Regions from separate parts of the Homo sapiens genome. Here all the other regions are linked to region 1. Evidence: promoter capture Hi-C in 16 types of primary human blood cells and fetal thymus (Javierre and others, 2016). All regions are on one chromosome and are shown on one strand. Each heading gives the region's core, a stretch centred on a gene start or on the middle of the fragment in contact. The rest is flanking DNA. Distances are from core to core; before and after follow the strand shown.

Region 1 (3,349 bases), core at 590-3,089:
CCTGGCTTTCTTCTTCGTGTGGAAGAGTAGGAATGCAAAGCGTGGAAGTATATTGGACATTAATTATTTTTGCCCCATAAGAAAGGACATTTTCAGCAGGGCACGGTGGCGCATGCCTGTAATCCCAGCACTTTGGGAGGCTGAGGTGGGCAGGTCCCCTGAGGTCAGGAGTTCAAGATCATCCTGGTCAACATGGTGAAACCCTGTCTCTACTAAAAATACAAAAATTAGCCGGCCATGGTGGCGCACACTTGTAACCCCAGCTACTCAGGAGGCTGAGGCAGGATCATTGCTTGAATCCGGGAGGCGGAGGTTGCAGTGAGCCAAGATCCTGCAACTGCACTCCGGCCTGGGTGACAGAGCGAGACTCCACCTCAAAAAAAAAAAAAAAAAAAAAGGACATCTTCTAAGTGCCGTTTAGAATAATATAGTACTTAGTACAAAGTACTGCAACTTAAAATATTATGTCTTCCTTGCAAACTGTATCTTACTCATGTTTGTTTATCTTCTTTCCAATATCCATGCTCCATTGTTTGAAACTCATAACAAGTGCTTCATAAATGCTGATTTGAAGAAGCTGGGAAGTAAGATTAAGTGGCAAGTCCAAGGTTACCAGCTACTAAGTATCAGTTAGGACTCAAACCTAAGACGTTTAACTCTGCATTCAGTGACACAACTGTCATTTAAGGAGTGCTGAGGAAGAGAAAGCAGCTCTGACATCCAGGTGCTGGAACTATCAGCTGGGCCTTGGTGTTGCTAAGAACTTTTCTGGACCATGGTGTTCTGTCGAATGAAAACAATTTCACGGAACACCAAAGTCAGACAAGAGCATTCTGTAACCATGATCAAGACAAAAACAAGACCACGTCATAATTTTGTCTGAACACGGACAAAATTTAGGCACTGTCTAAACCACAAAAATGACAAATATGTGTGACTGTTGCTTCTTTATCATTCATGGCTTTAGCCTCTGTCTAGTCTTGACTCCTAAATAAGACTTATTAAGATACCCAATCATAGAATTACTGCCATTTCCTGACAGCAACCAATCCAGAGTAAGGCCTTGCTTTCTTGAACTCTTCCCAAAATCACATAACGCAAGCCCATAGTAAATTCTAACACCTTCTTACTGAGATGCCCCCACGGTTCCTCATGCATGCATTTCTCCTGGCTTCAAGAAGTAGTAGCTCAATTCTTTTACTACAAGTTGTTCCTGGTGGGTGTGTTGGAGAGCACTGACAACTCCTCCTATGTCCAGGGGCTGTGTTGTGTATACATGCTGAGTGTTTAATTAGACAACCCTGTAAGACTTATCATCCCCACGTGGCAGATAAAGACATGGAGGTTCATGAAAATTTAACGATTTGCCCAAGTCCCCCCTCCCCTCCCCAGGAAAAGCCAGCGACCACATTCCAACCCTCCGCTAACTCTGCATTGAGCACTCTCTTTCCTATGCCCTCCACCTGCGCCCATTCCCCTCTTCTGCGGGCCGACCGGGATCCTGCTGGGGGCTACAGCCCAAACATGTTACTTTTCCAACTGTTGTTTTATGTGTTTCTATGAGAAAGGATATTCGGATTCAGAAATGCTTTGCAACTCCAGAGCTGTTGAGCCTGCGGCGCGGCCCACCACTCAACAGCGGTGCTGAGTGGCTGCTCGGTCGCGCGGGATCCACTCCGGGCCTCCGAGGGTGGGTGCACGATCCACTAGCCACTCTCCAGGGGAGAGTGACGTCCGGGTGGACCAATCGCCGCTGGGGCACCGACCGCTGGGCCCAATCGCAGGAGAGCCGGGTAGAACAGTGACAGCGCCGCGGCAGCCGACCCCGCCTCCTCGGCGGACAGCGATGCTCAGCTGGCTGCGGCCGAGTCATCGCCTAGCGCTGGCAGGGCCGCTGACCGACCGACGGAGGCGCCGATTGGCCGATTGTCCACTGCGCAGAAGGAGCAGCTGCTCCGCGCCCCGCCGCGCCGCGCTGAGGCCGAGGTCCGCAGGGCCGCGGGGAAGCCGAGGGCTGCCGGAGAACCCTGCAGGTGTCACTCGGGACGCGGAAGTGCGCTTGCCGAGGTTTGCTTTACAATACGCTTGAGACTCCCCGACAAGCGTAATTTGGTCGAGTTCGACGGGAAAGTACTCTCCCCACCCCAGCGCCGGCCGCGTAGTCCGAGGTTACTGTCCCCGGCGCGTCCTCTGTTGCCCCAGTCCAGAGGCTGCCCTTGAACCCGGGCGCGCACGAGCGCAGGGCATCCGAGGCGACAGCCCCTGGCACGGCCCGACCTGTACCCAGCCTGGCAGGAAGACTGTAATCGTGGGGTGAGTTAAAAATAAGGCCCTTTCGATTGGGAGCTGCTTTTTAAAACGCCCCCTCCCTGTCCGTTTTTAATACGCAGCAAAATAACAATAACAATTGTGCAACTGTCGCTTCCCAAAAGGAACCTCATTGTTGAACTTACGAAAAATCAGTTGGCAATATACAGTGTGGGAACTGTACTGTGATCATTGGCTAACCAAGATGGGTGACAGTTTATGATTTCAAAGACTCAAAGGCGGCTTGAGTCCTACAATGTCCTACTCATAAAAATGGAAAGCATGGCAGCCTCAGGTTGTTACAGAGTACTCTACTCCAAAGTAAAAGTTATTCTCTGAGAAAGTGCTTACTGCCTTTTCTGTTCTCTAGTTTGCTTGTTTAAACATTTACTCCACAAAATTGCTCAAACTTACCCATCTTTGAATATCTAGCCTCTGGGATGAGACAGATGATCTTTCTCCGTTTTCACTTTTTATAGAATACAGCTACCTACCCAGGCAATATGAAGATTTTATTTGTAGAACCTGCCATTTTCCTTAGTGCATTTGCTATGACTTTGACCGGTCCACTGACAACGCAATATGTTTATCGGAGAATATGGGAAGAAACTGGCAACTACACTTTTTCATCTGATAGCAATATTTCTGAGTGTGAAAAAAACAAAAGCAGCCCAATTTTTGCATTCCAGGAGGTAAGAAATTACAATATCCATAGTATTTAATAAAATGGGAATGTATACCGGGCTTTGAGTTAAAGAGGACCGTGAACTCATCATCCATTGGTCTCTCTAGGGCGGCCATCAAAGTCCTAAATCCCAAACCTAATGGCCTTTACTGGGAACTCACCTCATTTGAAGTTTCCTGACACCTTTCAAATCTGCCTCTTCTTCTTAAAACACCCTCCTGCTCTGTGACACTAGCTCTTCTCCTTTCTCTCGGAAAATTTCACCACAGTGTCATCTCTTCTGTGGCTGTCTCCTTGCTTTGTCCTAAAAAAAAAAAAAAAAAAAAAAAAAGTCTGAAAATTGGGGCAGGGCAGGCT
Region 2 (3,349 bases), core at 259-2,758, 480 kb after region 1:
ATTCTAGTTCATCCTTCTGAAATACCTTCTTGATGAAGATTTTCTTGACACCCATATCTAAAAATTATTCCCATCACTTTGTTCTTCTTTTTGCTGCAAATACCACATGTGATTCAATTGTTCTATGGGGAAGAACTGTGCCTTAATCCTCTCTGTATTCCCATCTACACATGTAAATGGCACACTGTGTAGATGGGAAATTATTCAAAAAAATAATTTTGTTGAAAAAAAATGGATTAGAGGTGAAGATCTCCTCTTTTCTTGGTACCAACAACCAAGATGCTAAATACAGCAATAGCTATCATCATCAAATTGCCTGCACTGACAAAGGCCATCACGGAAGAAGTACTAAGTATAACAAAAATCTGGGGGCAGAGGAAAAGTAAATGATCATGCTATCAAGCAGCACATATGTCAGTCAATACTATTTAAAAGCAAACATGAAACAACCCACTAGACACTACGAGAGAAATAGAGGAATGTGAAGGAAGCTGGGATGAAGGACATTCTTCTGACAAAGTCTCATTACTCTAGTATGTGTTACTTTTTCTAGGTCAATGCAATCTGGGTAAACATGGGTTATACAAATAGTTTTAATGAAGTTCCAATAACCAAACTAAATCCTCAATAATAAATTGTCATGTCTAACTACATTGAAGATAATGATTTAGATTAGAAATTAATAAAACATATGTCATCTTGAACAGATGACTTGAGAACATGTGAAGCATTATCTTCTTAATAACAAGGCCAATATCTGGGGCTTTTGCCATGAGAAAAATCATACTAAGGAACTTATGTAATCATAATCAAAATACAAAAAATGCGCTACTACTACAAATACTTATTCATTTTTAACCAAATTCCCCAAATCACCCAAAATTAAAGAATACACACTTATAGCCCAAAACACAGACACTGTGTTTATATCCCCAAATTCTAAGAGTCCTAAACATGTTAAGAATTAATAAAGTCTCTTCTTTGATTTTCCTTATGATTCAAAGAGTAGAAATAAATAAACTATCCAAAGTTGAGTTCAACGAAGCCTCCCTCACAACCCCACCCCTGCCACCACCACTTGTTATTTCAGTGCTTCAGAGACAAGCTTTATTCCTCAGACCATTTCTATCACTGGCTCTTCTTAATAGAAGAAGAAACTGAGTTTAAGGAAGGTATTTCAGCATAATTACTATTGCAATTAAAGTTTGAATGTCACAGCATTATTTGCAATTGATGCAACCTAGTCAAAAAAATTCCCAAGCTCCAGATGACTATATACTATATGCAAGTACAGCCTTCTGTTGAAGAGAACTTTCTTTTTTCTTTCTTTTGTCCTTTTTTTGAAACAGCGTTTCACTCTGTTGCCCAGGCTGGAGTGCAGTGGCGCCAACATGGTTCACTGAAGCCTCAACTTCCCAGGCTCAAGCAATCATATACTGCCTCAGCCTCCCTAGTAGCTTGGATCACCAGCACATGCCACCACCCCTGGCTCATTTGTGTATTTTTTGTAGAGACAGGGTCTCAACATGTTGCCCAGGCTGGTCTTGAACTCTGGACTCAAGCAACCTTGCCACCTCGGTTCCCAGCAAAGTGTTGGGATAACAGGCATGGGCCACCACATCCGGCCGAAAAGGAAAATTTAAAAGTGGACACAAATAAAGATATGACTGGGACAAACAAGACATAGGCATATGTATGTTTTAAACATGGATCTCATCCCAGAATAGAGTGTACAATATAAAACCAACCACTTCACCATCCAAAAATCAACAGAATCAGAAAGTAGACACTAAAATAATACTAGCCTTTACTTCTTTCCTCAAAATAATTTCATTTTTTCAATCAAATTAACCTTTGCAGAGAAAATCAAATCTGGCAAAAAATGTTCTTAATCAAAAGTATCAAGCTTAACAAGGTAATAAGAATCATGCAGCTATGGAGCGAAAGTTGAATTTTCTGCAAACTCATTTGTCTAAAGCCCAATTTTCTAAACTCTGCCATGATGGATGACTATTTGTACTTCTAGCCTAATCAATCAAAGATATTTAAAGAATCTACTCAAATACTGGCTAGGTAATACTATCATTACTCCTATATATTTTCAACCATCCCAACTTTCAAATGATTAAAATAAAATTTATACATTTATAATCTTTTAATTCTTAAATAACAAAATTATATGCGTTATCACACAGACACAGCTTTGGGATTTTCTATGTCATCCCACAGCATGTTTTATCTTCAAAAAGACAATCCACTGTATCCCTGTATAATTATGGCCCAGAAAATTAGGGTATGAAGCTTTTTATTCTGTAGCTTAAATCCCTCATGTTTCAGATTAAAAATCCATATAATTAAACATTATAATTAATCTCATTTCCTCAAAGATTGATTTTTAAAAGCCTGTAAAGTTTTAGGGTAAAAATTCATTATATCTTATTAATAAAAGTTATCTAAAAAGCATGTTAGCCATAAGCCAAAATATACTCACTAAACTAGCAAAATATTTACTACTCAAATTAAGTTCCATTAAATCTTAAAAATTCTAAGCCACAAATGCATACTACCTTTGTAAAGATGAAATAATCCAAGTGTCAAAAAGTTTACTTGAGAGAAATGTTTATAACCTCATATATTTTAAAAAAAGAAACTTGGATTCATAAGTAGACTGCAAAGCTTCTATGCTGACCTCTCAGTGCATACAAATTCTTGCTGGCAAAAAAAGCAGTAAAATTTATCCACTTTAAAGAAGTTTGACAATAAAATAAAAACGAAGTCAGTAAGAATACTGATGTTAATTGCCAGAACTGATTCCTTCACAAACCCTGTTTTCACAACAGCAACCCCTTATGATTAGGGGAATTAAAAGTTGCTGAACTCAACAATCCCTTCAGTTAAACAAACAGACCCCTCATAGAGCTGTCCAACGCTGCCCAAACTATCCATCCTTTAGTCGAATCAGTCAGTTTCATGAATTGTAGGATTTATCTTCAAGTCCAGTGCTGACTCAGAGGGTAGCTTGTTCCCTAGAGAAAACAACCAACAAAAATCAGAACAGCTACTGCTCATAAGCTCTTTCAACACCCAAGTGGAAAGGACAAACTTACTGGGTCCAAAAAAATAGTTCAACTTCCTTTCAACTACAGAAGTAGCCAATGAACCAAAGGCATCTATATGTCATGGGCAGTTCTTGATTAAAGCTTTCACTCAGTTACAGTGAGATTGTTAAATAGCTAACAAAGTTTTCAAGAGAAGCTATAGCACAAACCATATGGTTTCTCACTGGGAAAAAATATGAAGGGAACATAAATGGAAAGTATTATAAGGGCCAAAGCTATTTTCATTTTGT
Region 3 (3,349 bases), core at 511-3,010, 420 kb after region 1:
TGATACTTTCTTCTTCCCATCTCATAGGCTACCTGTCTCTTTTGCTGGTTTTACCTCTTTTCCCTGACTTTTGAACATTGCTCTAGTTACCCCAGGGCTTGCCCTTGAAGCTTTCTTTTCTCAGTCTATACCAACTTCCTTCATGATCTCAACCAATCTCAGGGCTTTCAATGACACCCATATGATGACTTTCATGGACAGAAGAGATTCTTCCTGCCCGCTGCAACACTCTAAACTCATATATACACAAGTGCTAACCTGACATCTCCCCTTGATGCTCTAGCAGACTGTATTTTTTTCAAATACAGGTGTATTTTTCAAAGATATTGTACTGTATTTTTCAAAAATATTCTATTTTTCAAAGACAGCTGCAAGATTATCTCCCATCTCACACGACCTTTGGCACACGACCTTTGGCAATGTCCCCTCCCCTAGAATCAGAGCTAGCTTTAGGACTCACTTGTGATCAATGCAATGTGAAAGAAGGGACACTGCATGGCTTGGAGGCCAGGTCAGAAAAGATCATGCACTTCCTGAGTCTTGGTACACTCACTCTTCAACAGTTCCCGCCAGGGACCCAGCAGCCATACTTGGAGAAACCTAAGCCACATGGAGGCCATGTGAAGGTGCTCCCATAGACAGCAGCCAGCTGAGTCCAGCCCGCAAGTCACTCCAGCCCCCATCCATTGGAATTTCCCAGCGGAGGCCCAATCACAATGGCATAGAGACAAGCCTCCCTGCTGTGTCTTGCCCAGATTCCTGACCCACAGAATCCTTGAATGTAATAAAATGCTTGTTTTATGCCATTAAGGGTGGAGTTGTTACAAAGCAAATAACCAGAACAAATGTGTACTAAACATCTCAAACTTAATGGGCCTTAGACCAAACTCCCAAATTGTCTTTTCCTGTTTCTCCATCCTCCCCTGCCCTGTAGACTCTTTGTTCTTACAACAGTCTCTTCCAATTCAGCAGAATCCTCTATCCTGTGAGCATCAAGCCAAAGGAAATATTTTTTGAGACAGGGTCTTACTTTGTCGCTCAGGCTGGAGTGCAATGGCTCCATCTCGGTGCACTGCAGCCTTGACCTCCTGGGCTCAATCAATCCTCCCACCTCAGCCCCCTGAGTAGCTGGGGCTACAGGTGCGTGACACCATGCCTGGCTGATTTTACTTTTTGTAGAGACAAGGTCTCACTATGTTGCCCAGGCCTGTCTCAAAACTCTGGGCTCCGGTGATCTGCGCACCTTGGCCTCCCAAGTGTCGGGATTACAGGCATGAACCACTGCACCTGGCCAGCAAGCCAAAATCTTAAGAGTCATTCCTGACTTCTCTCTTCTTTGTCCGCATCCAGTGAATCAGGACATCCCTGATGGCTCTACCTTTAAAACCTTATTTGAAGTCCAGCCACTCTGCACCACCTCTACTGCTACCACCCTAGTCCAGGTGTTTTTTTTTTTTTTTTTTTTTTGACAGTCTCGCTCTTGTCAGACCAGCTCTGTTGGCCAGGCTGGTCTTGGAACTCCTGACTTCAGGTGATCCACTTGCCTCGGCCTCCCAAAGTGCCGGGGTTACAGCTGTGAGACACCGTGCTCAGTCGCAGGTGGGTTTTAAAACTCAAAGATGGCTGGGCGCTTTGGCTCATGCCTGTAATCCCAGCACTTTCAGAGGCCAAGACAGGCAGATCACCTGAGGTCAGGAGTTTGAGACCAGCCTGGCCAACATGGTGAAACCCCGTATCTACAAAAAATATAAAAATTAGCCAGGTATGGTGACGGATGCCTGTAATCCCAGCTACTCGGGAGGCTGAGGCAGGAGAATCGCTTGAACCCAGGAGGCAGAGGTTGCAGTGAGCCAAGATCGTGCCACTGCACTCCAGCCTGGACGATGGAGTGAGACTCCGTCTCAAACAAAACAAAAAAACCCAACAAAACTCAAAAGACATGGGTTTTAAAATCCAACATCCTTCACTTGGGATGCTGTCAGTTTCCCACCATGTCAACAGCTCACTTCCTCCCTCAGTCTGTTCACGTCGTAGCCAGAGTGATCCTTTTTAAATGTCTTATCATGTTACTCTTCTGCTGAAAATCCTCCTGCAGCTTCCTTTTTCTTTTGAGACAGAGTCTTGCTCTGATGCTCAGGCTGGAGTACAGTGGTGCGATCTAGGCTCACTGCAAGCTCTGCCTCCTGGGTTCACGCCATTCTCCTTCCTCAGCCTCCCGAGTAGCTGGGACTACAGGCGCCTGCCACCACGCCTGGATAATTTTTTTATTTTTGATAGAGAGGGGGTTTCAACATGTTAGCCAGGATGGTCTCGATCTCCTGACCTCGTGATCTGCCCACCTCAGCCTCCCAAAGTGCTGGGATTACAGGCGTGAGCCACTGCGCCCGGCACGGCTTCCTCTTTTGAGGGTAAAAGCCAAAATACTTAAAATGGTCCACAGGACACACCCCTTCCCTATAGACCTTTCTGACGTCACTTCCTACTTAACTTGGCTCTAGCCACATTCGCTCCCCTGCTGTTCCGCAAAGGCTCTGAAACATTCCCTTACCTGGAATACTTTACCACCAGACATACACATGGCAGACCCCTTATGCTTTCTCGTGAGTAGTCTTCTCTCCTAAACTACATTGTTAGTCATGTATTGTATTAAGATGTTTGGGTATAACTATACATTCTGTAAATACCAAGTCCCTGTATCTGTCTTAGTGCCTAGAACAGATCCAAGGACACAGTAGATAAGACTTAAGGACTACCTGATAAATTAATGAATAAATCTGCTGCCATTTCATCCAAATACAAAAATTCCTCCAAAATACAGAGGAAATAACCAATCTTTTAAAATCCAATCATAAGATAATCATCATCTTGTTATATGAACACGTGCAAGAAAAGGACAAATTTATCTCTGTAATTCTTTATTAAAAATACTGCTGTACACATAGAGACTGAAAACAGGATTAAAGATGAATAACACAAATTGGGTCATGACATTAGAACCTAACACACTGGTGCTTTTTAGGGAAGTTGTTGACATCCAAATCACAGAACCAAGGTCAAAAGCAAAATACAAAGGTACCCTCAAAAATATTTACAATGAAGTAAATACACTAACAGAATTTAAAACAGGTACAAAATATTGAAATGACCAACGTTACATGATTTCAAGGGTTGTCCTTTCTGTGCTTTTATCTGTCACGACAGGAAGGTGTGGAAAGTTTATATCCTTAATTTGACTACTCTTGGATATTAAAATCTTTCTATTAATTAAAAAGACTTTTAGACAACCTCTTAAATGGAATTACACTATGGAAAACAGGGCTCCCCCAAAAACACCTAGGCAGAACTGAGA
Region 4 (3,349 bases), core at 407-2,906, 400 kb after region 1:
GATTCCTATGTAGCCTATCCCAAGTCTATTGGCTTTTTAAAAAGAAGCCCAAGCCAAGTGTGGTGATGGTGAGCACCTGGAGTCCCAGCTGCTCGGGAGGCTGAGGTGGGAGGATTGCTTGAGCCCAGGAGTTCGAGGCTGCAGTGAGCTAAGATCATGCCACCACACTCCAGCCTGGTGACAGAGGGAGACCCGTCTCTTCAAAAAAAACAAAAGCTCACTAACCCAAAGGATGAGTCTCTAATGATGGGACTTCTTTAGTTACTTGTGGGGAGAAGGCAAGGACCCTTCAGACGACACCCCTTCCTCTGACCACACAGGCAGAAGTAGCCATAGGAATAGCCTGTGAGCACCAGGTGCCCCGCACCATGTGACCACCCAACCAAGCGGGTGTCCTTAGCAAGGATTTGCTGAGCTTCTCTGTGTGTTGTACGGTATGTTGAGATCTGTTGTAATCCCTGGGAATTTATTACTAAAACGTAGCTTTAAAGGGAGGAAAGAAACACTGAATTGTCCCCTCTTGGTCTTTTGTACCCTTAAGCCATAACAGGCCCTGTGTTTTCCACATTGTCTCCCGCAGGTGGGTCTCCATACCCAGGAGTACAAATGGATGAGGACTTTTGCAGTCGCCTGAGGGAAGGCATGAGGATGAGAGCTCCTGAGTACTCTACTCCTGAAATGTGAGCCCTTGGTGCCCTCTGCTCCCCATCTGACAGCTCGCTTTTCACCAGGGCATTCCTGAGAGGGGATGTTTTATGGATTCTTAGAGTCCCAGTCTTGGAAGATGCCAAGGTTCTTCTTTCCTTTAGAGATGCTCCCCTCAGCCCATCAGGCCCAGATATGCTGGGAGTGTTTTCTTGCAGTGGGGCACGTGGCCCTTGACCCATCCCTACCTATTTCCTGTCCTGACCACTGACATGACTTTTCAAGGGCTCTAGCTGGGAACTGAAGTTAGAAATTCAGTTTCTAGGTATGAATCCAGGCAAAACAAACAGACCACCCAGGAACTGAATGCAAGACCTTGGCCTCACTCACGGAGTGGGAGCCAAACAGGCCTAGCAGCCCCAGGGATGGAGGGCTAGACCTTGGTCTTGTGACCAGTCCTGTGTCTGCACAGAACACCCGTGAGGGGGTTGATGTGGTCTGCAGAACAGGTCTTGGAGAGGAAAAGGGGAACTTCCTGATGTCATGATTATGCTTCACAGAAGGCTTTGTGGGCAATACAACTTCTTTAGAATCCTTTGGGAGGAATAGGGGCCGGGCGCAGTGGCTCACATGTGTAATCCCAGCACTTTGGGAGGCAGAGGCGGGCGGATCACTTGAGGTCAGGAGTTCGAGACTAGCCTGGCCGACATGGTGAAACCCCGTCTCTACTAAAAATACAAAAGTTAGCCGGGCCTGGTGGCAGCTACTTGGGAGGCTGAGGCATGAGAATCACTTGAGCCTATGAAGCGGAGATTGCAGTGAGCCAAGATCACGCCACTGCACTCCAACCTGGGTGACAGAGTGAGATTATGTCTCAAAAAAAAAAAAAAAAAAGAACCTTTTAGGAATAGGCCCAGCAGCTGTCTGAAGCTGCCTGGTCAGATGGCTTTTCGGGTGTCCATGTGAGGCTTTCTCCACTGTGCAAATTGCACTTGCTTGCCTGTCTTGGACACTTTTTTTCCTGGGGCTTTGTGGATGTTTTGCACTTTGAGGCCTGAGCAGGAATGTGATGACACTTGCACTTTTGTGGAGCTGCTGACAAGGACTTGGGCCTCCCTGAGGCGGCACCACCTTTCCTGAACTGGCAGGGGCCCTCCCATTCCACCCACACAATGGGGTCCTGTCAGAAGCCCTGGCTGGCCTTTCAGAAGGAATCAGAGGGAATGCAGGAAGTGTGGGCTTGGCCAAAGGGCAAAGTCACTGTCTCTTTCCTTCATCATCTCGGGGTAAGGGTAGGTCAGACCCAGGATGGGGAACTGGACGAGGTGGACAGGAGACTCAGGCCCAACAGCAGGGCTGGGGAGCTCTGCCTGAGCGTAGGGAAGCGGGAGGGGACCTGTTCTTGTCACTGGTGCGTGGTGTCCTCATCAGAAAAGTACAGGGAGCTGAGGCAAGGCCTGTTTCTGAGAGCTGGGGATAGAGCTAGATGATTAACTTTATGATTTTCTAAGTGTTTTCCCACACATAGTCTCATTTGAAGTTCCCAGAGACCTTGAGGGGTGGTCAGGGCAGCTATTGTAATCTGAATTTAGCAAGTAATGAAACTGAGATGCCGAGAACTGAAGCAATGTGCCGTCTGTCAGCTGAGAAGCAAAGGAGACATTTAGAACCCAAGCCTCTGGACTGATGTCCCTAGACCACGGCTGATGAATTAGGAACAGACCCCACGTTCCTCAGTAGAAATGCTTCTCTGATATGGCCACTCATGCTTTGAATTAAATATGTCCTTCCAATCTTCATATAGTCTGAAAATCTCGAGAAAGTTCTCAATTACACTAATAGTTGTTATTATTAAATAACAATATTTTTACATCAAAATAAATGCAAAACAGTATGAAATTAAGTTTTATTTTTACTTCCATATAAATTCTAAATAGTATGAAATTAGTTTAGTTGGGTTTTTTTGTTTGTTTTTTTGAGATAGTGTCTCGCTCTGTTGTCCAGGCTAGAGTGCAGTGGCGTGATCTCAGCTCACTGCAACCTCCACCTCCTGAGTTCAAGTCATTCTTTTTCCTCAGCCTACTGAGTTGCTGGGACTACAGGCATGTGCCACCACGCCTGGCTAATTTTTATATTTTTTTGTAGAGATGGGGTTTCTCCATGTTGGCCAGGCTGGTCTCGAACTCCTGAGCTCAAGTGATCCACTGGCCTTGGCCTCCCAAAGTGTTGGGATTACAGGCGTGAGCCTCCATGCCTGGCCTGAAATTAGTTTTTATTATAACAGTATTGAATAGTACTGATTAAATAGTTATTTGGTGCTTATAAGTGCCACTATTTTAAGCATTAATTTATTTAATGCTCATAACAGTCCTATAAAGTAGGACTACCATGATCCCCATTTCACAGATGAGAAAACAGGCACCGCACATGTAAGTGATTTGCTCAAGCCTGCGTTGGTAATAAGCGAATTCAGCTTGAGTCCAGAGTCCACAGCACCATCCTACACTGCTGCAGAGTGTGTTTCCCATTCATACCCAGGCTGTGGTCGCAAATAACTCAGAGGTACAAAGTCACATCAGCTTTGGACCAAAAACTGCTTTGGACTTTCTCAAACCTTCAAGTCTTTACATAAACCTCGCTCAGGTAGCTCCCGTGCCTCAGGTGACCTAGAGAGAGTGGTATGGTTCCTTAATTCTGAGGAGGG
Region 5 (3,349 bases), core at 432-2,931, 380 kb after region 1:
GGGCTCCCCTGAAACTGGAACCATGGGTCTGCAGAAGGATTCCAACACATCAGATGATTAAGGAGCCCATAACAGCTTCATGCTGTTTTATGAGGCAGCAGTCAGCTTCCAAGAGAATAAATGAAAAGGCTGAGGGAAGCCAAATGAGAGCCAGTTTATTCTCAATGATAAGAAGCAAAGTCCCAAACACTTGTTAAAACAAAGTGTGTTGTGACGGCTAAGACGGGATGTGGGGGCTGAAACTATGGAAAGTGCAAAGGATGCCACCTGCCCCAAACATGCAAGGGTCTTAGGTGTGTAAGGAGAAAAGATCTGGATATTTCTCAGGCTCAGGACACTTTTCTTTTTAGATGGTGGAAGGCATTGTGGAAGAAAAACATTGATACTTTATCCCAAATAAAGCAAGGAATAAACCTCCAACCAAAATGCACCAGTTTTTACTAGTATAGAGAAGGCATCTGCCAGCGCTGTTCCCACACCGGATTTTCAGATGTAGCACTTTCAGGATCCACTGGAGGCTCTTTTATTTCAAATCGAGGGTCCCCATCCTGGTCTATTTCTTCAACAATTTTATGCGAAGAAGGAAGCAGAGGCTGTAGCTCTGCCCGTGTTGCATGCTCTGGGAGGAATGTCATTTAGTAATCACTACGGGAGCATGTTTCACAAAAAGAGAAACGTGTCGTCTCCCCAGTGTTCTCTCTGAATGCAGAGCATGTCCCTGCAGACAGCCACACAGAGGCCCTAATGATGACACTGGTATAAGTGAAATTTTCATACATCCTAACTGGACACCTGGGGTGGTGGGTAGTAGAAGACATTAAGCAGAGCAAGGTAAAGACATTTTTGTCACTGAGTAGTTGGGCATAAAAGTAGAAAGGTTCTAATATGATGAGGAAGAAGCAAAGCTTCATTACAAACTACAAGAAAATTTTTTAAAAATGCCCTTTGGGGAAAGGGAGTGGAGTAATGAGGAAGGAAGGGAGGAAAGAAGGTTCATTAACTGAAGGCACATTATCAGACGGGTCTAAGAAAGAGCACTTGGTTGGGAAAGGAGGGGTTGTGTTAAATTAACACTCTAACTGCCAGGATTTATAATAGTTTTAACCAACCAGTGGTATTCTGTCATTTCCCCTTCCCCCAAGAAAAGCCAAAAAAAGACTGACTTACTTCACTTACTCTTCTTTGGGTATATCATGCTGGAGGTGCACCATTTCTCTGGGTTCTATTGAGCTGTTTCCTGATGTGCAAAAGGAGGTTCCCTGATATAAAAGGCAGCTTAGGTACTCCAGGGAGTGCCCTCCCTAAAGGGCATCAATCTCAGGGTCTCCATCCCATGGGCCCCTCTAGTTACCTATGACTAGGAGACTTGCTTTGGGCAACCCACACATTCCTGAACACCACTCTCCATTCTGCAGCAATATTCAGTAATAACAGATAGCACCAGGCACCAAGTTAGGTTCTGGGAAGATTCAGACATGGTCCTTGCCCCCCAGAGTAAAGGGGGGCAAGGACTCCCTGGGTCATTCTAGGATAGGGAAAGAAACATATTAACAGTCATTATAGCATAGCATTATGGGGACCATGAAAGGAACCTTGCTTAGTTATTGCATTTAGCAACTACCTCTCTGGGGTTGAAACAAATCACTACCAGTGGTTGACCAGGCTCCTGTGCTGAACCACGAGGATTTGTAATCTTCACCTAAGACACATTAGAAAGACTGGAAATATTTTGCCTGGTAGGGAAGTCGGATAAATGACTTAGTGATTATTTTAAAGTTATGAGCATTATTATAATCCACAGTAGTAACCACCATTTTCTATTTCTCCCTTTTTGCTGAAAACAGATGAGAGAAAAATGACTGTAAATGGAAAAAGAAAAAGAGCTTAGGTTCCACACAGGGAAGTCTTCTTGGTCATAATGTTATTAAACAATGGAAGAAACTACACGGGACTTGGTCCCATCTCTCCTACGGGAGAACGCTGTGGAAAGGAAACTGGACATCTACCTTCACTGAATGCCTTCTAGGGACTTACTCTATCTTTGAAGGATGTGGGGCCTCAGGAACAGAGTTAAGAGTTGAAAGGAAGAGACTCCAGAAATAAGTCCCTTACTTTGTCTCTTTTAGGGTTAGTTCACTGGAGATTCCATGCCTCACATGCACACATAGGAAAAGGCATTTCCTTCCTGAAAAAGACTTAAACTCACCCTATTGCCTCGGCAAACAAACCAGTGTCTTCTCTTCATTACAGGCAAATCACTTGGAAGAGGGGCTTTTGGAAAAGTGGTTCAAGCATCAGCATTTGGCATTAAGAAATCACCTACGTGCCGGACTGTGGCTGTGAAAATGCTGAAAGGTATGTATGCTGTAGTTTGGCTTTCAACTGACCCATCACCATTTTGCATTTCCTAAATGTTGGTACAAGTTAGATATAGCCTGGGAACAGACACAAGCTTTTCTGCTCTGGACACATAATTTTCTTCTACTGCTAGAGGCCTCTTTGCTCACGAGTTTTAGATTAGGCCAGCACGAGCTCAGAAGAAACCTTGTAAATGGAACAATCCAGCACTGTCCATAGGAAAATGATCTCTGTCACCTCAAAGGTCTTTCTCATCTCACATCACAGACTGTAGACAACAAGGGACTTAAGCCCATTGTAACTGCAGGTTCAGATTTTGGCATGATCTACTGTGATGTTGTAATGGAAACTTAGCAGCACATTCTAAATCCCAATGGCTTTGCTTGGGCTTGACCTGACTATAAAGTAAAACTATAAAGCTAGAACAATTGAGTTGATCAGAACTCTAAACTATTTTATACTAACTACCTCAGCCATAAAACATTTCCTCTTTAGCAGTTTAAAAACCTGAATTATCTTTCTAGTGTTGAAAGATACTACTACTCTGTGAAGCACTGGGAGGTAGAACCAAATCACACAGTGACTTATGCCCAACACCAAAGACAGATTGAAAATGAAAATCAGTGAAAGCTGTGTAAACCACATGTCTCAAAGACTCACAGGTCCTTTACAGTGTAGAAAATACTTCATTTCCTCATCTGTAATGGAATTTTATGATGCTTCAACTCAACAGAACTGAAAACTCAAAAAGCAGCTTTTAACTTTCCAAAGTCTCCAGGATACTGCTGGGAAATTTTGAAGCCCAGCAAGCTGTGAGTCCAACTACACGGGTACCTAGTACAGGCTCCAGGAGAAAGGGTTGTTTGCTTAGGGAGACGTCAAAGTTCTTAATCTTCTAGCAATAACTCCATTATTTCAAAAGCCCCATGTAAATATATTTTCAACTTCAAAAGGTTTACTCCTCAAGAAAAAACTAATAAAACTCTGCAAA
Region 6 (3,349 bases), core at 249-2,748, 360 kb after region 1:
CCCAGTAGTGGGATTGCTAGATCATATAGCAGTTTTCTTTTTAGTTGTTTGAGAGGCTCCATATGGTTTTCCAAAATGGCCGTAACAATTTATAATGCCACCAACCGTGTATAAGGGTTCCCTTCTTTCCACATCCTCATCAACACTTGTGATCTTTTATCTTTTTAATAATAGCTAATCTAATAGGTGTGAGGTGCTATCTCATTTGGTTTTTTTCTTGTTTTTTGAGACAAAGTCTCGCTCTGTCACCCAGGCCGGAGTGCAGTGGCACGATCTCGCTCACTGCAACCTCTGCCTCCCCAGTTCAAGTGATTCTCCTGCTGCAGCCTCCCAAGTAGTTAGGATTACAGGCATTCGCCACCACACCCCGCTAATTTTTGTATTTTTAGTAGAGACTGGGTTTCATCATGTTGGCGAGGCTGGTCTTGAACTCTTGACCTCAGATGATCTGCCCACCTCGGCCTCCCAAAGTGCTGGGATTACAGGCATGAGCCACTGCACCTGGCCTCATTTGGTTTTGATTTACATTTTTGTGATTGGAGATGGTGAGTATTTTTTTCATATAACTGTTGGCCATCTGTCTTCTTTTGAAAAATGTCTATTTGATTTCTTTGCCCATTTTTAAATAGGATTATTGGTTTCCTTGTTATTGAGTAGTTTGAGTTCCTTGTATATTTTGGATATTGGCTCCTTATCTGATGTATGATTTGCAAATACTTTTTCCCAATCTGTAGGTTGTCTCTTCACTCTATTAATTGTTTCCTTTGCTGTGCAAAAGGTTTTTAGTTTGATGCAATCCCATTTGCCTATTTTTGCTTTCGTTGCCTGTGCTTTTGGGGTCATATCCAAGAAATCTCTTCCCAGACCAATATCGTGGAGTTTTTCCCCCACATTTTCTTCTAGTAGTTTTATAGTTTCTGGTCTTACATTTAAGTTTTTAATCCATATTGAGTTCATTTTTATATAAGGGATGAGAGAAGGGTCCATTTTCATTTTTCTGTATGTAGATATCCAGTTTTCCCAACACCACTTATTAAGGAGACTGTCCTTTCCCCATTGTGTGTTCTTGGCACCTTGTCAAAAATCAGTTGACCATAGATGTTTGGGTTGATTTCTGGGCCCTTGCCTATTCCATTGGTTGATGGATCTGTTTTTATAACAGTACCATGCTGTTTTGATTATCATAGCTTTATAATATTACATTTTCTTTTTTTAAGCTTTCAAATATTTCTCAACTTTTCTATATTGAGTACATCTTTCATAAGAGAAATACAAACTATTTAAACTAATGAAATACAGCCTATAGTCTGGCCAGGCCTGTTTTATCACTATTCTGGAACAAGTACTCAATTCCTGTTTATTTCCACATCATGCCATTTCTCATGCTTCCGTTTCTCATTTCACCTCTGACAATCCTTCAGACCTCAACTCGAGGCCCACCTCTTCTATGCAGCCTTCCCCAAGTACACCCTTCCTTACTGATCTCCTTCCCTGTGCCAGACCTTCCACTTAATTAGGTATACTGTGCTGTATTCACTCATTCTCATTCATTAAACATTTTCTATTTGTTGGCTTGTGTGTGTGAGTGTATGTGTTGAGCATGTGTGGGAGAGAGAGAATGTAAATGTGTGTGTTTGGTAGGAATTAATTTTTCCTTCTCAACAGATACCATGTCTTAGCCTGCCCACATCTTAGCCTGCTGTTTGTTTTGTAACACGAACTGATGGCAGAGTAAATACTCAACAGACCCTTGGTGATAGTACAAGGTATTGAAGCTTCAAGGTCTTGAAGCCTTTCAGGGGTCTGAAAATTCTTGGGACTCCTTCCACTACACTGTGCTCTGTAGTAATCCTTAAGCTTACATTTACTGAGCACTTACTATGTACCATGGGCTTGCCATTTACTATAGAGTAAGAATTACTTTCATTTTTATCTTAAGATTAAGGAAACTGAAACTTAGAAAGATCAAGTAACTTGCCTAAGTGACAAAGCTTGAAGCGCTAAGGCATGGATTAAAACACAGCCCAGGCAAACTCTTCATCACTAGGCTATATTGACTCACCAGGCCTTATGACAAATGAAATATTAGTTCCTTTGACCCATATGTCACAAATGTGCTTTCAGTCAAACTGCATGCTCTTGGTGAAGTTACTTAATCTCACAGAATCTCAGTTTCCTCATTTGTAAAAGGAAGACAATATTAGCTGACAGGCTGGTTGTAAATGTCAAGGTATGAAAGTGTGTCACATAGTGCCGAGCACACAGAGGGCGTTGAGTCAATGATAGTTGTTATTATTAGATATGCTGCCTTCTTGATATCTTCAACTTTCAAGTTGGGCATGGCAGCTGCCTCACATTTCTTTCTACAGGGTGGGTGGATTTGCATCTCCGAAGCTGGGGATCACAGCTCTGCTGGGTGGTGAAGGTGCTATTAGAAAGCCTGCAGAAAAAAAAAAAAAAAAAAAAAGGAAAGAAAAGAAAAAGAAAGCCTGGACCCAGAGAAAACAAATAAGCAACCCTGCCCCAGGTTCACTAGAGCTCGGATTTCCTTGTCTGAATGCATAATGATAGGAAGAAGGCTGTGTTACAGAAGTAGCTGTTTTTTGTTTGTCATCCAGGCCCACTAATCTAAACATCTCTCACCCCTCAGGAATTATTTTAGGACCAGGAAGCAGCACGCTGTTTATTGAAAGAGTCACAGAAGAGGATGAAGGTGTCTATCACTGCAAAGCCACCAACCAGAAGGGCTCTGTGGAAAGTTCAGCATACCTCACTGTTCAAGGTAAACAGCTGCTTAAGAAAGCAACAAGAAATTGGTCAGACATCTATTTCCCTGTTTGTTTAACTTTCCACCTCCCAGTCTCCTGCTGCCTGCTCCAGTCTGTTCCTTTCCCTGACCTCCTTCTCCCCTCTCCCTGCCACTCCGGGAAGGGACTGTCTGGTTCTGTCTGGCAAAGCAGAAGGTGAAGACACTGGCTGGCCATCCTCGAGAGCCCAAAATCCGAACACAGTGTCTGCGGGAGAAGTCGTTCCCAGAAGAAAGGAAACCCAGTTCTGACTGTGTTATTACGCCCTGCCACAGAGAGTGGCCAGAGTAGTCCACACCTGTGAGAGAGATGTCCAAAATGGAAGAAAAGGGAGGGGGGTAGGTGAGGAGGGGGAACTCGCACACTTAAAATTGTTCATTTGTTTTCCTTTTCTAATTCCCAGGAGTTAGACATATGCTGCTATTCCAAATGCTTTTATAAGCTGGCTTTTAAAATGAAGTGGGCTGTAATATATTATCAGAAAGAAGCAACATGTAATCAACAGATGACATTTAAGAAAAATATTCCAAGTGCTTCCTCTT
Region 7 (3,349 bases), core at 523-3,022, 310 kb after region 1:
CTGTTACAAGAAAATCAACCCAAAGCATGTAGGTCAGTAGTGTCATCTGCATATATAGAGGGTGGCAGTTTCCCATAATGTGTCAAGAGAAGAAGACTAGTAACTTAGACCAGATGGGGAGTTCCACAGATGGCTCCCACTTGGAATGTAGAAGGCTGACATATCACACATGAGGTCCTAGCTCCATGTGTTGGAAACATAATTGGCTGCTTTCTTTTAATTTATTTATATCAATCTCTAGTCCGAAATTAAGTTGTTTCAGGTCCAGAGCAATCAGCAGAGATGACATGGAGTACACTCTTAGCCCATAATTTTTTTTTTCCTTTCAGGGGTTATAAATACCTCCCTGCCATTGTACTTGGCATGCTGTATGCAAATGGAGGTAGGAGTCATATAGCTCATTAGGAAAGGGACGGAGGCTTGGAGCAAAGAGAGGACAGCGCCGAGCTGAGGCTGATAACAGTGGCCTTGTCCAGAATAGTGCATGGGAGCTTTCTTATCTCGCTTTGGCAGGAGGTGCTGTGGACTTCCTGTGCGAAATCAGGAGCGAACGCTGCTTTCCTCTTGTTGTTCGGCTTCCTCCCCCCTCAAGACAGTTCCCAGCACAGTGATTATCTTTGCATCTTCAAACATGGCACAATCTACTTCCTTAAGAGCTTGATGTATTCTTAAGGCTTAGGCACATTCCCCTCCCCCTAAATCTCTTTTCAAGTGCTGTTATATAGTAAGGCTTCTAAATGACATTCTATTTTTATAGCCCCAATTACAAAGAGGGAAAAATAACAGCCCCTAAATTAGAAAATAGCCACAGAATCTGTCCTTTTTATGTGGAAGAGCTGGCAATAAGTCTGGCCTATAGTTTCCATACTAGGGCTTGTGCCCTTAGTAACTGCCCTCAGAGTCATGGGTGTGGGATGGGGGAGGTGTGGGGTGTCAGAGGTCAACAGCCCCAAGTGAACTCAGATAGCAGACTGTATTTCCCTTGAGAAACACCCAGGCTTGCCTTACTCTAACATATTTCTTTGCATTTCCTAAAGCCCAAGAGTATGAAATTAAGATCTTTGACTAAGGTATCCCCGATCTTTTTCCTTGCTTTGGGGGAAAAGGAATACAATCTAAAAGCTTGTCTTCCAGATACAAGAGAACTTTAGCTGTTTGATGTCACAATCCCAAGTACATATGCAAATGTCTAATCTAGGTATACACATGTGTATATGTGCACATTATATACACTCATACCTGTAATACGAGTGTGTGAAAGATAGCAAGTCTAACGCAAGATTAACATGGGGATGTTATAGTCTAGAAAATGGAGAATATGATAATGAAAAAATAAGGCAAAGTGACTCTCATATAATGACTTTTAAACTTTGTCATTAAGATGTTTCTAATAAAGGAGAAAGTACATAATTTCTCTTTGGCTCAGTTTACTCTACTTATCAATAAGCATTAAAATGTTCATTTATTTTACCTCATGATTATTATAAGGTTATACCTGGTAAAAACTGCAGAAATTCCTTGAGGAATGGTCACCTTTTATTCATTCTTTTTAAATTTTAAATCTTGTAATCTAACTGTAAGACAGACATCTTTAAAAACATTTGGGGAAATCTGATATACGGTTTAGGTGCAAACACCACCACGGAATTATTGCTAATTCTCTTAGGTATAAAAGTAGTGTTGTGGTTATATTGGAAAAATTTGCTCATTTTTTAGAGAGATGCACTGAAGTACATAGGGCTAAAATGACAAGATGCCTGAGATTTGTTTTAAAACACAGAAATCCTTCATTTGGCCAGGCTAGAAAAATTTTAAAATAAATAAATAAATAAAATACAGAAGAAAAAAAAGGGGTAGATGAAACCAATGTGACAAAATCTTGATAACTGTGAAATCTGGGTGGCGGGTATATGGGGGTGTATCACACTATTCTCTCTACTTATCGGTGTGTTTGATAATAATAAACAATTAAAGAAAGTAGAAACTCTTAGCAAAAACAACTTCGGGTACCTTGTGCCTGTCTGCATGTGTGCAAATGTTTATGGGGCGCCGACGGCATGCTCGGGCCCTGCTTAGCTATGGGGACAGAGTGAATACGTCGATTTGTCCCCTGTCCTCCTGTAGCTGTTGGCCCAGCGGGGACTCAGAACCATTAAGTCAGCACTTAAAAGGTGGTGAGTACTCTGCAGGAGGACGTTACAGGGCCAGTACCCCTGCAGATGCGATAGTTTAACACTCTGGAGTTCCTTCTCAGCTCAAGGACCAGGGAGGAATAGTAACGGAACGTTTTTCTGACCACATTCCCTTCTGTCTTCCCCTTTTTCTCACTGACTTTAGCCTCTCATTTTCCTCTCACATAAGTCATTCCTGCTCTTGGCTGCTAAAGATGAACCACTCATTTTTTTCTGGAAATGAAGCTTGAAAATTTCACTTAGCCTATAATCCCAGCTACAGGCTGAAGCGGCAGGATTGCTTGAACCCAGAGGTTCGAGGCTGCAGTGACCTATGATTGCACCACTGCACATTAGCCTAGGTGACAGAGTGAGACCCTGTCTCTAATATTAATAATAATAATAATAATAATAATAATAAAATTCCTCTTGGTTTAAAAAATCTGTAGAATCTGCCCAAGACATGTGCAAATTAGAGACCAGCAAGCTTTCTGCTCAAAAAAATTCTAGTCCAGAAAGTCAGAATGCAAAATGGTGAAATGTTTAAAACAGAGAGAGAATTCATGGACCTCAAAGATAAATAACATCAACACCTTTATTTTATAATTAAACACTTGAGGCCTGAGAGCTTGAACAGTTCCCCAAAACTTGAGCAGAGAGAGACTGAATTTAATAACTGTTTCATGATGTTGATTTCCATATGCACTTAATTAGCCCTGGAAAAACTTAGCCATCCAACTGCATATTCTGATTAAAAGCCAGCCTTTTATAGATATAAAATGGTATGATTTCCTTGAGTTTTTTATTCATTAACATAACTTCATTTTTTCCGTGTTTGAATGTTACTTCCACTAAAAACTAAAATCTAGATACTAAATTTTCTAATTTATGCATTTTTATTTAATATTAACATTTACAACGAAAAGGATGTATGGTGACACACTAGTGTGGGGCTTTTTTCAAGTATCAGCCAAATATATTTGCTATTTTTAAGTTTTGAGGATGAATATAGGAAAAAATCTAAGGAAAAGAAGATCACACATAAAATTTGTGACTTTGTTATCTGAGGACTTACACCAAGTTTTCATTTCACCTGTCCCCATTGACTGAACCATGCTGTAAAGCCACATTGTGACAACTTTTTTTTTTAATAGGTGTGACTTTTGTTCCAATAATGA

Evidence for each region. Contacts are between HindIII fragments. The CHiCAGO score rates a contact against its expected background, and 5 or more counts as called.
Region 2: a contact is called between a fragment that was not itself captured here and the fragment with the promoter of SLC46A3 in region 1, in 1 of 17 cell types (naive B cells). The highest score is 5.3, in naive B cells.
Region 3: a fragment that was not itself captured here is called in contact with the fragment with the promoter of SLC46A3 in region 1 in 6 of 17 cell types (monocytes, total B cells, endothelial precursors and 3 more); the score reaches 5.6 in monocytes.
Region 4: a contact is called between a fragment that was not itself captured here and the fragment with the promoter of SLC46A3 in region 1, in 1 of 17 cell types (monocytes). The highest score is 5.6, in monocytes.
Region 5: a contact is called between a fragment that was not itself captured here and the fragment with the promoter of SLC46A3 in region 1, in 3 of 17 cell types (naive B cells, monocytes and neutrophils). The highest score is 7.3, in naive B cells.
Region 6: a contact is called between a fragment that was not itself captured here and the fragment with the promoter of SLC46A3 in region 1, in 1 of 17 cell types (monocytes). The highest score is 6.7, in monocytes.
Region 7: a contact is called between a fragment that was not itself captured here and the fragment with the promoter of SLC46A3 in region 1, in 1 of 17 cell types (neutrophils). The highest score is 5.3, in neutrophils.

What each region holds. Positions count from the first base shown.
Region 1 is chr13:28,717,460-28,720,808 of GRCh38, reverse strand. SLC46A3 (solute carrier family 46 member 3) reads left to right here and starts at 1,839. Exons shown (of 6, transcript NM_181785.4): 1 at 1,839-2,313; 2 at 2,787-2,999. The coding sequence starts at 2,811. The HindIII fragment of the contact is 12,183 bases long and covers 1-3,349 here.
Region 2 is chr13:28,239,256-28,242,604 of GRCh38, reverse strand. The region is part of intron 6 of PAN3 (poly(A) specific ribonuclease subunit PAN3); the gene reads right to left. Among named protein-coding and RNA genes, the nearest start is that of PAN3-AS1, 100 kb to the right of the region's middle. The HindIII fragment of the contact is 801 bases long and covers 1,108-1,908 here.
Region 3 is chr13:28,294,885-28,298,233 of GRCh38, reverse strand. PAN3 (poly(A) specific ribonuclease subunit PAN3) reads right to left here. Exons shown (of 19, transcript NM_175854.8): 19 at 2,899-3,349. Among named protein-coding and RNA genes, the nearest start is that of PAN3-AS1, 160 kb to the right of the region's middle. RefSeq lists a silencer at 1,762-1,920. The HindIII fragment of the contact is 3,295 bases long and covers 113-3,349 here.
Region 4 is chr13:28,314,829-28,318,177 of GRCh38, reverse strand. It overlaps FLT1 (fms related receptor tyrosine kinase 1), which reads left to right. Exons shown (of 30, transcript NM_002019.4): 25 at 581-680. All of the region lies in intron 2 of LOC124903141 (a long non-coding RNA gene), which reads right to left. Among named protein-coding and RNA genes, the nearest start is that of PAN3-AS1, 180 kb to the right of the region's middle. The HindIII fragment of the contact is 8,639 bases long and covers 1-3,349 here.
Region 5 is chr13:28,333,031-28,336,379 of GRCh38, reverse strand. FLT1 (fms related receptor tyrosine kinase 1) reads left to right here. Exons shown (of 30, transcript NM_002019.4): 18 at 2,251-2,355. Among named protein-coding and RNA genes, the nearest start is that of FLT1, 160 kb to the left of the region's middle. The HindIII fragment of the contact is 1,547 bases long and covers 908-2,454 here.
Region 6 is chr13:28,356,987-28,360,335 of GRCh38, reverse strand. FLT1 (fms related receptor tyrosine kinase 1) reads left to right here. Exons shown (of 30, transcript NM_002019.4): 15 at 2,651-2,782. Among named protein-coding and RNA genes, the nearest start is that of FLT1, 140 kb to the left of the region's middle. RefSeq lists an enhancer at 1,870-2,179. The HindIII fragment of the contact is 558 bases long and covers 1,220-1,777 here.
Region 7 is chr13:28,405,871-28,409,219 of GRCh38, reverse strand. It overlaps FLT1 (fms related receptor tyrosine kinase 1), which reads left to right. Exons shown (of 30, transcript NM_002019.4): 11 at 3,326-3,349. Among named protein-coding and RNA genes, the nearest start is that of FLT1, 88 kb to the left of the region's middle. The HindIII fragment of the contact is 1,295 bases long and covers 1,125-2,419 here.